Regions from separate parts of the Homo sapiens genome. Here regions 1 and 2 are each linked to region 3. The links are contacts of gene promoters, found by promoter capture Hi-C in blood cells and fetal thymus (Javierre and others, 2016). All regions are on one chromosome and are shown on one strand. Each heading gives the region's core, a stretch centred on a gene start or on the middle of the fragment in contact. The rest is flanking DNA. Distances are from core to core; before and after follow the strand shown. Region 1 has its middle 9.0 kb from the start of LINC00858. Region 2 holds the start of CERNA2 (competing endogenous lncRNA 2 for microRNA let-7b). Region 3 holds the start of LRIT2 (leucine rich repeat, Ig-like and transmembrane domains 2).

The links. Contacts are between HindIII fragments. The CHiCAGO score rates a contact against its expected background, and 5 or more counts as called.
Region 1: a contact is called between a fragment that was not itself captured here and the fragment with the promoter of LRIT2 in region 3, in 1 of 17 cell types (neutrophils). The highest score is 5.3, in neutrophils.
Region 2: the fragment with the promoter of CERNA2 here is called in contact with the fragment with the promoter of LRIT2 in region 3 in 1 of 17 cell types (neutrophils); the score reaches 5.9 in neutrophils.

Annotation. Positions count from the first base shown.
Region 1 is chr10:84,268,891-84,273,072 of GRCh38, forward strand. No RefSeq gene overlaps it. Among named protein-coding and RNA genes, the nearest start is that of LINC00858, 9.0 kb to the right of the region's middle. RefSeq lists an enhancer at 326-1,525. The HindIII fragment of the contact is 3,944 bases long and covers 1-3,661 here.
Region 2 is chr10:84,169,143-84,173,325 of GRCh38, forward strand. CERNA2 (competing endogenous lncRNA 2 for microRNA let-7b) reads right to left here and starts at 2,934. Exons shown (of 2, transcript NR_134505.1): 1 at 2,580-2,934. RefSeq lists enhancers at 2,253-2,754, 2,669-2,718, 3,069-3,308, 4,129-4,178. The HindIII fragment of the contact is 12,565 bases long and covers 175-4,183 here.
Region 3 is chr10:84,223,219-84,227,305 of GRCh38, forward strand. It overlaps LRIT2 (leucine rich repeat, Ig-like and transmembrane domains 2), which reads right to left and starts at 2,326. Exons shown (of 3, transcript NM_001017924.5): 1 at 2,193-2,326; 2 at 1,115-1,896. The coding sequence starts at 2,302. The HindIII fragment of the contact is 7,130 bases long and covers 1-4,087 here.

The DNA.
Region 1 (4,182 bases), core at 440-2,939, 45 kb after region 3:
TGATAGTTGGCTTAATACTCCCATTAATCCCCAGCTGCCAATGGACTGATTAGCTTAGCTTAGATGGGATTTATTGGAAACCATCACCATAGGTAAGAGGGTGAAATTATTTTAATTTGCTTGTACCAATAAAGGTACGGGTGTAGTCAGACCTACACAAATGACATAGTTGCTGAGTAGTGGGAGAGGGCAGAATGGATGCTGTAGAGAAAATTTCCATTTCCATTTGTAAATGAGGTGAGAATCGAGGACATGGGAGTACATAAGGATGGTACCTAGGGTTTTGGAGGTGCCATATACCAAGATGAGGAAGACAAACCAGGCTTGGGGGAGAATAAATACAGATGCCTCTTAGATACTCAGGTATTTGGATCTAGTGAGCATTTAGGTCTAGTGAGCATCTGGAAATATGAGCAAGAGCTGAAGGGAGTTGTCCTGGGTGTAGTCACATGGCATCATGTAGTCACATGGCAGGTGTGGGACAGAGTGACAAACTTTCAGCCACTTAGCACAGCCTCTCCCTGCCAGCTCGGGAATCAGAAGAAAAACCCTGTGATGAGAAGGTTAGAACTAGTGATTCTCTAAACCAAATAAAGCCATGAGCACCAATATTCTGCTACTAAAGGAATAAATGAAGATCTAAATGAATACATTACAATTACACATCTCTTTCATGTCTTTTGTTTGAGCGATCCTCAGAACAATGAAAGAAAGGTAGCAGGAAGAGAATTTAGAATCCCATTTTTCAGATGAAAAAGCTGAGATGTGCACAGGTTAAGTGGCACCCCAAATCCACCAGAACCTGAGTTTGGAATCCATCCTCTTGATCCTAAATCTAGTCCCCACGCCCTGCAGATCCAAACATCTATGATCAGATAAATCTATTCATGGGGACAATATATCTACAACCAAAGATATTCTATGACTCAAGTCAGCACATGCTAAGAATTTTTCAGATGCTGTGGAAGGTGACTTAACAGGGAGGCAGCAGGTGACATAGAAAGAATCTTGGTCTCCTGGTCAGAACAGACACCCACTTTGGAGTTCCAGCTTTGCTGTTCCCTTCCTGTGTGACTTTGGGTGAATCACTGAATTTTTGTGGGCTGCATTTTCATTTATGATGGGTTGGATTACATCAGTCGTTTTCAAACTTTTTTTAAAAAACTGAAGCAATCCTTAGGTCACTGGTTAAATTCCTGCTGGAAGTAGGTGACTTATGCTTCAGCTGGGCATTGTGGCTCACACCTGTAATCCCAGCACTTTGGGAAGCCGAGCCAGGCAGATCACTTGAGGTCAGGAGTTCAAGACCAGCCTAGCCAACATGATAAAAACCATATCCATTAAAAATACAAAAATTAGCCAGGAATGGTGGCGTGTGCCTGTAATCCCAGCTACTTGGGAGGCTGAGGCAGGAGAATCGCTTGAACCTGGGAGGTGGAGGTTGCAGTGAGCTGAGATTGTGCCACTGCACTACAGCCTGGATGACAGAGCAAGACTTCATCTCCCCCCACCACCGCCCCCACAAAAAAAATAAAAAACCTGAAGCATTTTCTTTGAGAAAAAAACACACACACACACACGAGGAAATATAAATAAATTAAAGAAATCCCAGCATAACTTCTCCTACCAAATGTTTAAGATGGTGAATGGGGATAAGCCTCCTCCCCCATGACTACCACCTTAGAAATCTGCAATCCACTCTGCTTTGCTTTCTAGGAGTCTGTGGGTTGCATCTCTTTTTAGGTAAGTTCTGAGATTGCCTGCCTTCCCCCAGTTCTAATGCCCCAACCACTCCAGGAAAATGGCCTCATAGTCCCTCTCTTCACCCCTGGCCAGTGCCACAGACAGCAGGTGTTGTTCTCTGTTCACAGTGATGTTAGTGCATGAGCCCAATGGATAGAGTACCTTGTTGTTCAGCCTACCTGGGTTTAAAGAAGGCCTTTGTGGAAGCTCAAGCATTAGAAAGCTACAGATAACATTGTTTATCAGTTGCTGTTAGCAGGTGTATTTGCCAACTCTTCTCAAGTTAAACAGGAAGTGATTAAAGGACTCCTTGAAGTTAGGAAGGTAAGAAGAATAAACACTCGTAATTATGAAACAGCAGAGTCTAACCCTTTATTATGGGCTTTCCATGTGTCAACATATCCAAGCCTCTGAACAATACTAAGATTACAATATTATGATCTTAAGTTTTATTATCTGCATTGCCTATGTGAGAAAACTGAGGCTAAATTTATGAAAATCTAGAAGAAAACACAGGCATAAATATTAACAGCCTTGGATTAGTCAGTGGTTGCTTACATACAGTAGCAAAAGCACAAGCCAAACAATAATAAAAATGGCTAAACTGGACTTTTCCAAAATTAAGAACATTTGTGCTTCAAAAAATGCACAAGAACATGAAAATACAGCCCACAGACTGGGGGAAACATTTGTAAATTATATATCTTATAAGTCACTAATATTCAGAATATATTTTAAAACTCTTATAGTTCAATAGTAAAAGGACAAATAACCAATATTTTAATGGCCAAAGCATTTGTATAGATATTTCTCCAAAGAGTTACACAAGTGGCCAATAAGCCCATGAAAAATGCTCAACTTCGTTAGTTATTAGAGAAATGCAAATCAAAACCATAATGAGATGTCATTTCATATCTATTAGAATGGCTGAAATCAAAAAGGTCAATAATAACAAGTGTTGGCAAGGATGTAAAGGCACTGGAAACTTTATACATTGCTAGTACGAATGTTAAATGGTACAGCATTTTGGAAAACAATTTGGAAGTTCCTCAAAAAGTTAAAAATACAGTTATCATGTCCTCAGCAATTCTACTTCCAGGTACATGCCCAAGATAATTGAAAACATACTTCTACACAAAATCTTATATACTAGTATTCATAGCAACATTATTTACAATAGACAAAATGTGGAAACAACCTAAATGTCAGTCAACTGATGAATGGATAAGTAAAATGTAATTTATCCATAAGAGGAAATATTATTCAGTCATAAAAATGAAGTATTGATGCATGCTACAATATGAACAAACATTGAAACAAGCCAGACCCAAAAGATCACATGTTGAATTATTTCATTTATACAAACTGTCCAGAATAGGAAAATGTATAGAGACAGCAAGTAAGTTAGTGGTTGCCAGGGGCTGGGAGAACAGGAGTTTGAGAGGTGATTGCTACTAGGTATGAGGCTTATTTTGGGGATATTGAAAACATTCTGAAATTAAATAGTGGTGATGATTTTATAACTTTTTGAATATACTGAAAACCACTAAATTGTACATTTTAAAAGAATGAATTCTATGGTGTATAAATTATATCTTAATAAAAATTAATAATTAATTAATTTAGTGAATTAATGGAAAGTGCAATGGGAACTCAGAAAAGATGAAACTCAAAAGTAGCAGGAGGGATCCAGAAAGGCTTCCCTGAGGAAGTGACACAAGTTCTCCCCTTCTTAACTCTCAAGGCCCTGAAGCATAGTACATGCACAATTATTTTCAAAACTAATGTCTCAGCAGAGTAGAAAGGTCCTACTTCACATCCTGATACTCCTTCCCAGTGCCTTCCTCTCCTCTATACAGGCTTTACGTAATAATCACAAAATCCCCCAGCCCCATCTGTTCACCTGTTTTTCAGTAGAAGCTTCTTCTACACCTAAATACATTTTTAATTGTCATTTTTAAATCAATTTCTAACAGACTTTTTGCAAAAAATTCTCATATTTTCCCCATGTTCAAGTTTGGAGCTGGGTGGGAAAGGTTGCTTATAGGGATGTAAAGGAAGGGGGCTACTAGAGACTGAATGTCAGGGTGTAAAGGGCATTATTCCGTGACTTGTAGCATGGAAGCATGGTGACGAAGCACTATGCTTCAGCATAACACAGCCACAGAAGCAATGCTGGTAAGGATGTCATGTCCCAATGCCAGGATCCATTAGGAGTGTATTGATCTGAATAGGAGACAGAAGACAGAAACAATCCACTGGCAGTGGTGGAAGCCTCCAGGCGGATGGATGAAGGACAGATTTGGAAATGGGCAGTGCTGGGAGGAACGGAATCGTAACTCAAGGTCCTGAAGCAGAGAATGTTCACATTTAGAACAGGAGGTGGCTTCCCCTCTGGATTTCTGGACCTTCATATTGCTGAGGTTTGAGAAAATCATA
Region 2 (4,183 bases), core at 1,684-4,183, 53 kb before region 3:
AAGAGTTTCATCAGGTCAGGTAGCCTCAGGGCTGGGGCCAACACAATTTTTTCTTTTAAATTCATGAAAAGCTCATTGCTGTTGGTTGTAATAGATGTAGTTTATCTAATCTGCATTTTTATTGACTGTCATCTACCAAGATATTGATTTAAATCTTGTAACTATTTGATTTCAAGCTTTAAATTGATCTGGTATTCCTTGCGGGGCTTCAATTGCATCTAAATAGATGTGAGAGTTGAAAGACCTATAAGGGGCTTCTCTCACTTTATGATTTTTATTTTATTTTATTTTTTTCTTCCTCTGGTTGATGAAGTGCCAGGGTAAAAGGGATAGCCAAATGGACTAAAGCACAAGTGCCACTCTAGTTATTCAGCAGAGTGCCCAGTAAAGGTCCACCACAATACCACCACACATCCACTCGGGGATGAACAAGGGCTGACTGATTGATAAGCTCTTGAAAATTCTTAAGCTCACTGCATCCCTTCAGGTCTCCAAGGAATGCTAAGTCTCCTCCCTGCCACGAGAGACAAGAAGTGAACTTAGCGTTGGGAGACAGAAGCTGGATGGCCTTCGGGGGCTGACCCTCAGGGACTTCAGGATATAGCAGAGAGAGCTTGGCATGACTTATTACTCCAGGCTGTAGAATCCTGGAAAACAGCTACCATGCAGCCCACGCCTGGTCGACTGGAGGACCACCTTAGTGGAAGGGGGACAATCAGGGCCTCTGGCCTGCCATGTGCACAAGCATAACAATTGCTTTTGTTTAATGTGCAGATGGAATATTTGATCCATTTCAACCAGGCATTTGCATCTTGGTATGCTGTCTTAATTTCCAAAGTTTGTTTTAAGTCTTTAACTTCTATGATCCTCTAGTAAAAGGAATGTTTCCTTTAGTACCTATTTTTATTAGTTTTTAGACCAAAGAAAGTTAAACACCATTTTATATTTAATAATGCTTCTTGTATGATTTTTATACCAGATAAGCTAAATTTTACCTTTATATTAGTGTGTTATTAATGTTAAACTTAATTTTAATAAAACCTTGTAGATATATTTATCCAATTTTTCATGTTTGACCATAAGGTGAGATTTTATAGACTCTTTTTAACCTTTTATAATTTTTGTTAAAGAGCAGGTTGATGCTTTAAGAAAAACCTGTTGCATTTTTACTTTAATGTCCAGTTCACAGAAAAGCTGGATGATACCTTTTTAACTTTAGCTAATATGTTTATACACAGAATTTTCTTTACAATTAAAGTTTTAAAACTTGCTTAAACTTTCAAAACAATAATTTTTTAACCTTTTAATGTTGGTAAAAATCCACATTCTTATGCCTCCTTATAATCTTTTTACCAAAGGTATATTTTACTATTTTTATACACCTTGCACATAAACTGTTTCTTCAATAGTAGTACTCAGGAGGCTTTTTTGCATAAATTTTTTTATAACATTTTTTCTTTCACAACTTTCGCCGACAATTCTTCAACATGCCTCAACTTTCTGACTTATTACAAACATTTTTTTTCTTTAAACAACCAGTTAATTTATTTCAGGACAAGAATTTACCATATAACACTCTTTTTACATAAATTCTGCCTCCCCCCCGCTTTTTTTTTTGAAGATAACCATTCCTTTTTTTAAAGCGAACTTTCTTTATGTCTTTGGACTAGACTCTCTAAGGCCACAAGATTAGAAGTTACCACAATATATGTTATGCTGTTAACTTTTAGCAAACTTCACTTTTGTTGAAAACCTTGTAAGTTTGGGATTTCAATTATCCTTTGCTATTAATAAGACCTTGTTTAGTCTAAATTAACTTAGAATTGGTATAGATGGCCTCTTTTTTTTTTTTCTCTGCTGGTCTTTCCTTGCCTCTCCCAACTGCTTATGCTGCTGTTCTTTTAACTACTGTGGAGGGGAAGGGGGTCTAAAACCAGCTGTAACTGTCTATGTATGGAAACTGGTCTGGGTGCCTTGGCTTACAGGTTGCCCTGTGTCATACCGTTGAAACAAGGGACCTGTCCAGGCTTCTTTCTGATGACCAACCCACTCTAATGCTGGCCAGTCTATTTCACACAAAGTTCTAAGTTTTCCTGGTGTCACAGTAACATCGTAATCTCCCTTAAATTCTTTCTTGAAATTTTTATTTTTTTTAACATAGTTCCTAGTGGGGTGGGCTTATTTTTGCCTGACCCATGCTTCTTCAAGACAAAACACCATGTTCACACCACACACACACCACAAAACAAAAAACAGGTAAAAAGGGCACACACACACTTTTGCAGTTTACACCAAACCAAAATCAGAGTATCCAGAAATCCAAGCCAGGTCAAAACTAAAACCAAAGTATCACACAATCTAAGTCAAGTCAAAACCAGAACAAAAGTGTCAATGCAGGCATGCCGTGGGTGATCAGGCCATGTTTCCACCCAGATGGAGTAGGGCAAGTTCCAAAGACTAGTCTTACCAACTCAAGCCAAGTCAAAACCAGAACAAAATGCCAATACAGGCACACTGTGGGTGATCAGGCCACGCTTCCACTCAGATGGAGTGGGGCAAGTTCCAAAGACTAGTCTTACCAAGTTGTAGATGTCCGGACTCCAAGTGCCAGTTCCTTCCTGGTGTTCAGCCACTGTGTTAATCTTCCGTGGGGGCCTGCTACACGCTGCTCTGGCAAGGCGTTCCATTGGGGCAATTGCCTACCCGGGAGCGCTCTTTGGATCACGTCACTCAGGCTGGCCGGAGTTCCCCTCACGGATGCTCCACAGGGCAGGCCTAAGCCGCCTAAGGGGCTGCCTCGGCCATCCGTCAGTCACCTCGTTTCCCAGTCAGGGAACCAAGAAATGTAGCAGGGTGAGCCGCAGACAAAACCTCTCAGACACTGAGTTGTAGAAGGCAGGGCTTTATTCAGCTGGGAGCATCGGCAAGCTACTGCCTTCAAATCTGAGCTCCCTGAATACACAATTTCTGTTCCTTTTAAGGGCTCACAACACTAAAGATTTCACATGAAAGGGTCGTGATTGATTTGAGCAAGCAGGCGGTACGTGACAGGGGCTGCATGCACCGGTGGTCAGAGAGAAACAGAACAGGGCAGGGAGTTTCACAATGTTCTTCTATACAATGTCTGGAATCTATGAATAACATTGGTTTTTAAGTTATGAGTTGATTTTTAACTACTGGGTTTAGTCCAGGCAGGCCCAGGCCTGGTTTCAGGCCTGGCGCCGGGCTGCCTGTCTTTGGTTTTACTTCCTTGTTTTTTCTTAAAAGAGGTACTGAGTATAAAACAATATAAAACAATATGAGAGGGTATCTCTCTTCCCTCAGTTTGGGAGTGGAGGTTTGAGAGCAGCCCAGGCAGAGGCTCATCAGGGTGCATGGGAAACATCCTAATTTCTTCCGAAAAATATTCCTCCTACCCACCACCTCTCATAGGCCCAGGGGCTCTGAACCCTCTGACACCATCTGAGGCCAGAGCCTAGCAAGTGTTCAGGCACCCATGCACCATTATTAAAGGGAACTCAGACCCACTCTGATGGAAAAGGAGCCCAAAGCATTCCTGTCATCAGTCTCTACCCGGCTGAAGGATCCCCCGGCCTCCCTTTTGCCAGTCTGATTCCTCTGCTGGTCCAGGAAGCCCACCATGACCTGGCCTACCATGCCAGGCCATCTCCGACCCAATCTTATTCCATCTCTGCAGAGTGTCCCCTCCCTCCCCCACCTTCTGACTGAGCAACCTACGTCCCCTTCCTTCAGTATAGACAGCACTTACAATGCTGTGAGACAGTCACTTGTCTGCACAGCTTCCTCCACCAACAGGAGCTCCTTGAGGCGAGGCACAGTGTCTTCTGTGTCCCTGGAGCCAAGCGCATGGCTCAGCCCAGGTCACGTGTCCAGTGAATGGGTGGCATCTGAGCCTCCTGCACCTGTGGTCAGACTTTCCCCCATGCCTGCCCTGGGCAGAGGCTCCTCTCTTCCAGGCCTTGTTCAGGGTGACCCTGTACTTGAAGTGTCTTCTCATTTCATCACTGTCTTAAACATCAAAGTCCACCTGTGGCCCCACCTCCTTTAAGAGCTGTGTGAGCACCTTGGTGCAGATGGCTTCTCATACATGCCTCAATACAGGCTTGTGAGAGAGATAGTCCTGTGCCCATTTCACAGATGGGAAGCCGACTCAAAGACATTC
Region 3 (4,087 bases), core at 1,076-3,575:
TTGACAATTTTCTTGTCAATAAAATGGGATGATAAGCAATCACCTACCTCATTAGTTTGAAAGTAAGTGTTCAATGCTTATATTTTTACTGAGAGATTATATAACACGTTGCCAAACAGTGATTATAGAACACCACGAAAGACAACACCTGTATGCATTTCTTGGTTTTCAAAGAGGCTACAACAATAAATCCTATAATTTTCTTTCATTGATATTGAATGCCAAACCAATAAGGTATTATCAAAACAATACAGAATGTGAAAATTCAGTTAATTGGGTATTTTTAAACCATCCAGAGTTTTGTCATAATGTATAACAAATACCTGGGCAAATGACTATATTTCCCAAGTTTTACCCAGCTATTCCTAGTTGTCTTCTAGACAGAGAACAGAAGACAGGACACGAGGAATGTACGAAGATTTTTCTTTTCAGCTTTGGGATACCCCCAGGGAGGCCATCCCCGGCTTTGTGATATGCCCAACCCTACAGAGTAGCATTAAAGGTAATCCCAGCTGAGGTATGAAAACAGAGCAGAGGGTTCCAGGAAGGAAGAGGCAGGTTTGAATTCCAGCCCCAGGGCCCACAGAGGTCACTTCCTTTCCCTGGGTCCCAGTATTACAAATTCAAGCCAATAAGGTCTGAACAATTTTATGTCAGTGTTATTTCAAACAAGCACCCCAGGTGATTCTGCTCAGGCAAGTTAAGGAAATAACTAATAGATCATCTCTAAAATCAATCCTAGTAAAAAATTCTAGAATTCTAAAATACATAGTCCAGTGTTTTGCATCTAGAAGATTCCCAAAGACTATATCTGCTCATATAAAATTTTATAATATTTGCATAAGATATTAAATTAGCCCTGAAATATGTGTTTATATATGTGTATATGTTCTGTATGCAAAGAGATCTGTATGCAAACATTTAAAATAATGCCAATAGTGGAACACTACCTTGAAATCTTTTCTGTTCTAGTGAGCATAATTCAGGGCTATCCCAATCTTACTTGCACCCACCCTTCGTGACTGACCCAGCTTTGAATCTCTCTAATGAGGATGGGTTTGCTACAGACCTCTCCATTCCCTCCAGATACACTGAGAGGGTGCATGTGGCTTACCATCAAATTCTCTCCACATACTCAGGGGATAAGTCCATGCAATGGATGGTGAGGGGCTGGCCTGTGCCAAGCATCGCAGGGTCACATTCTGTCCTGCCCGGATGGTGATATTGGCACTGGGGGTTGAGATCTGTGGCTTCATGCAAGCACTAAGCTCAGTTTCATGAAAAAGCTGCCCTGCCTTGGACAGAGGGCCCTGACATATCAGGTAGGAATTCACCAGGATGACTGGGAGGGTAATGGACTTGACAAACTGGACAAGCCCCCTTAGGCGACAGTCACATACCCAGGGGTTGTCATGCAGGGCCACCACCAGGCTGGAGAGAATCTCAGCCCCACAGTCAGGCTGCCGGCATTTCTGGTAGGCTGGCCAGTTCAGGAAGACACTCTTGGATACAACTGTAAGCCTATTGGAGGATAGGTCAAGGTAGGTCAGGCTGACCAAGAATTGAAGAGCCAGCTCAGGGAGTGCATCAATCTTGTTGCGTTTGAGATCCAAGACCCTCAGGAGAGGGGTGGCACGGAACGCTGTCCATGGTACTGAGCAGAGCTTGTTCCCCTCCAGTCTCAGCTCCCTCAGTTCTGGCAGGTGTTCCAGGGCTCCTAGGTGGATCACACTGATATTGTTAAAATTGAGCCAGAGGTATTCCAAGGTGCTCATGTTGATGAAAGACCCTTGGGGCATCTCAAATAAGGGTGAATTTTCAATTCTCACTTGCTTGAACTCTTCAGAAAGGTTCCCAGGGATCTTTCCCAAGGAGACAGATGTGCACTGCAGAGTCCTGTACAAGAAACCAGAACAGCTTTAAGATAAACAACAGGGGACTGAAAAGTGGGGTCAGGCTGATCCTGGCATTAGACATGTGAATCAGAATAAAAATATTATTATTCATTGAAATAAAAGAGTTAGACTCATTTTGGTAAAAATGCACAGTTCAGCAAAGTTCAGTCCCAACTAGAATGAGTCTCATAGAGTTTTGCTGATTTCCTGCCAATTCTAAGCCTGCTTCCACTCCACATCATCCCCAAAGAAAACCCATTCCCCATAACCCTCTAACATCTGGCCAGCAGAGCGCACCTGCCAAAACTCTCCTCTGAGCAAGTGCATCCTGGCAGACAGAAAGGCTGAGCTGCGTGTGTATCCAGAAAGACCAGAACTAACAGGAAGTAATGAAAAACTGAAGCCATATTTCTCTGTAAGAAAATACGTTGTGAGTTTTGAATAAGTATCGCCCCAGCTTCCGAGTGGCAAATCCTATTATTGGTAATCCATGATGATGTAAGTCACACAGCAGCAGGAAAGCCCATGGGAGCTCTGAGGTCTGTTACAGCCCAGACCACAAGTTCAGTCAGAACACACGAAGGGGGATCAATGTCTCTTAACTAGGGTCAGGAAATTCAACATTTGTGTAATTCTTGAGTCTGAAAAGCAAACTCCAAGTCAGATGTCCAATTCCATACAGATTCTACATTTCTTAGAGTCTTAAACAGAAGTCTGAGAAACAAGCAGGCAGTGCTATTCTGAGCACCACTGTTCAGGGGATGTGGCCAGAATCCATCTAATGCTTCATCATTTGCAGTTGATTCCTGAAACCTAGAATTTCCAATCATTTTCTCAAAGTGAAAATAGGTGATGAGTAACAAAGTAATTCTGTGTTCATTCCTATCATTTGTTCTCTTCCCAACACCACGGGTGGTGTAGTCATGCTCCTACTGCATCAAGACAGCTGCTTCTGCAGCTTGGGTCACCAGTTTCAAATACAAGATGGTATTTTCTGATTAAACCAAAAGATTGTTTTCTTGGACTTCACAACCTTTCCTTAATACTGTGCATTTCACTTCATCAAAATGGGCAACCTACATTTTAAAAAGAGATGTATACAATTTTATATGCTTGCTCTTTCACTCTTCATTTATTCCACAAATATTTACTGGTCATTTGCTTTAAGCTATACTCTTGCCCAATGAAAGGAACAGGGTCAAGGGCAAACCTATTATAGACCCTGTCCCAAGGAGTCTTCTCTCTTGTTTGTGCTTCTGAATCTTGAGATCTTTGGAATGTAATTTAATCTCTGTGAGTCTTTTCTGTATCATGAGAATATTAACAAATACCTCATAGTGTTTCCAGGAATTTATTTCTCATTATTTTTTAATTTTTGTATTTTTTCAGAGACAGGGTCTCACTCTGTTGCCCAGGCTGGTCTCAAACTTCTCAGCCTCCCAAGTAACTGGGATTACAGGTGCAAGCCATTGCATCCAGCCATATTTTTAGAAAAGTTTGAGATTATGTTAAATACAACACCTAGCACACAGTTGGTGCCCATTAATCCTCCTCCCACTGACAAACTCTTTAAGATCCGAAAAGTCTACATCTCTATTAACTAGGGCACTTCCAGTTGAATATTGAAATTCCATGAGTTCCTTTAAGACTCATGATATACATTGTACCCTACAAAAGGCCTCAGGAAAGAAAATCCGCTTAGCTAACCAGTGAGGGGGGAAATGGGTCACCAGCTAAGCTGATTACACTCCAGGCTTTCCATCCAAGCCAGAAATATTTGCAGGAGTTTCCAAACAGTCTAACTCTAAAACCTGGGGGGACCACTGTGTTTGTCTAAAGGTAAAAATCCAAAACAAAGAGAGAGCTATCGGCACAAAGTTTGTCATACATATGGCTATGTGCTTCCTAGATCCCCCTTCAAGGTATAAGTGGATGCTCAGCTGCAAGGAGTGCTTGCATGAGGTCACGTCCTTCCCAAAGCAGCCACATCCCACATTCAGTGACTGAGGGTGGTGAGGGCCTGGCCAGTTTGCCCTGATGGGGGAAAACTCTGATGAGCAATTATCACTCCAGAGTCCCCTACCAGCTTTGCTAAGGCTTTGTCAGGCTTGTTTCATGGAAATATGTGATTTAATTCATGACTATTCCAAACCACTAGTGGATTCCTTTCTCTCCCCTTACCCCAAAGGATA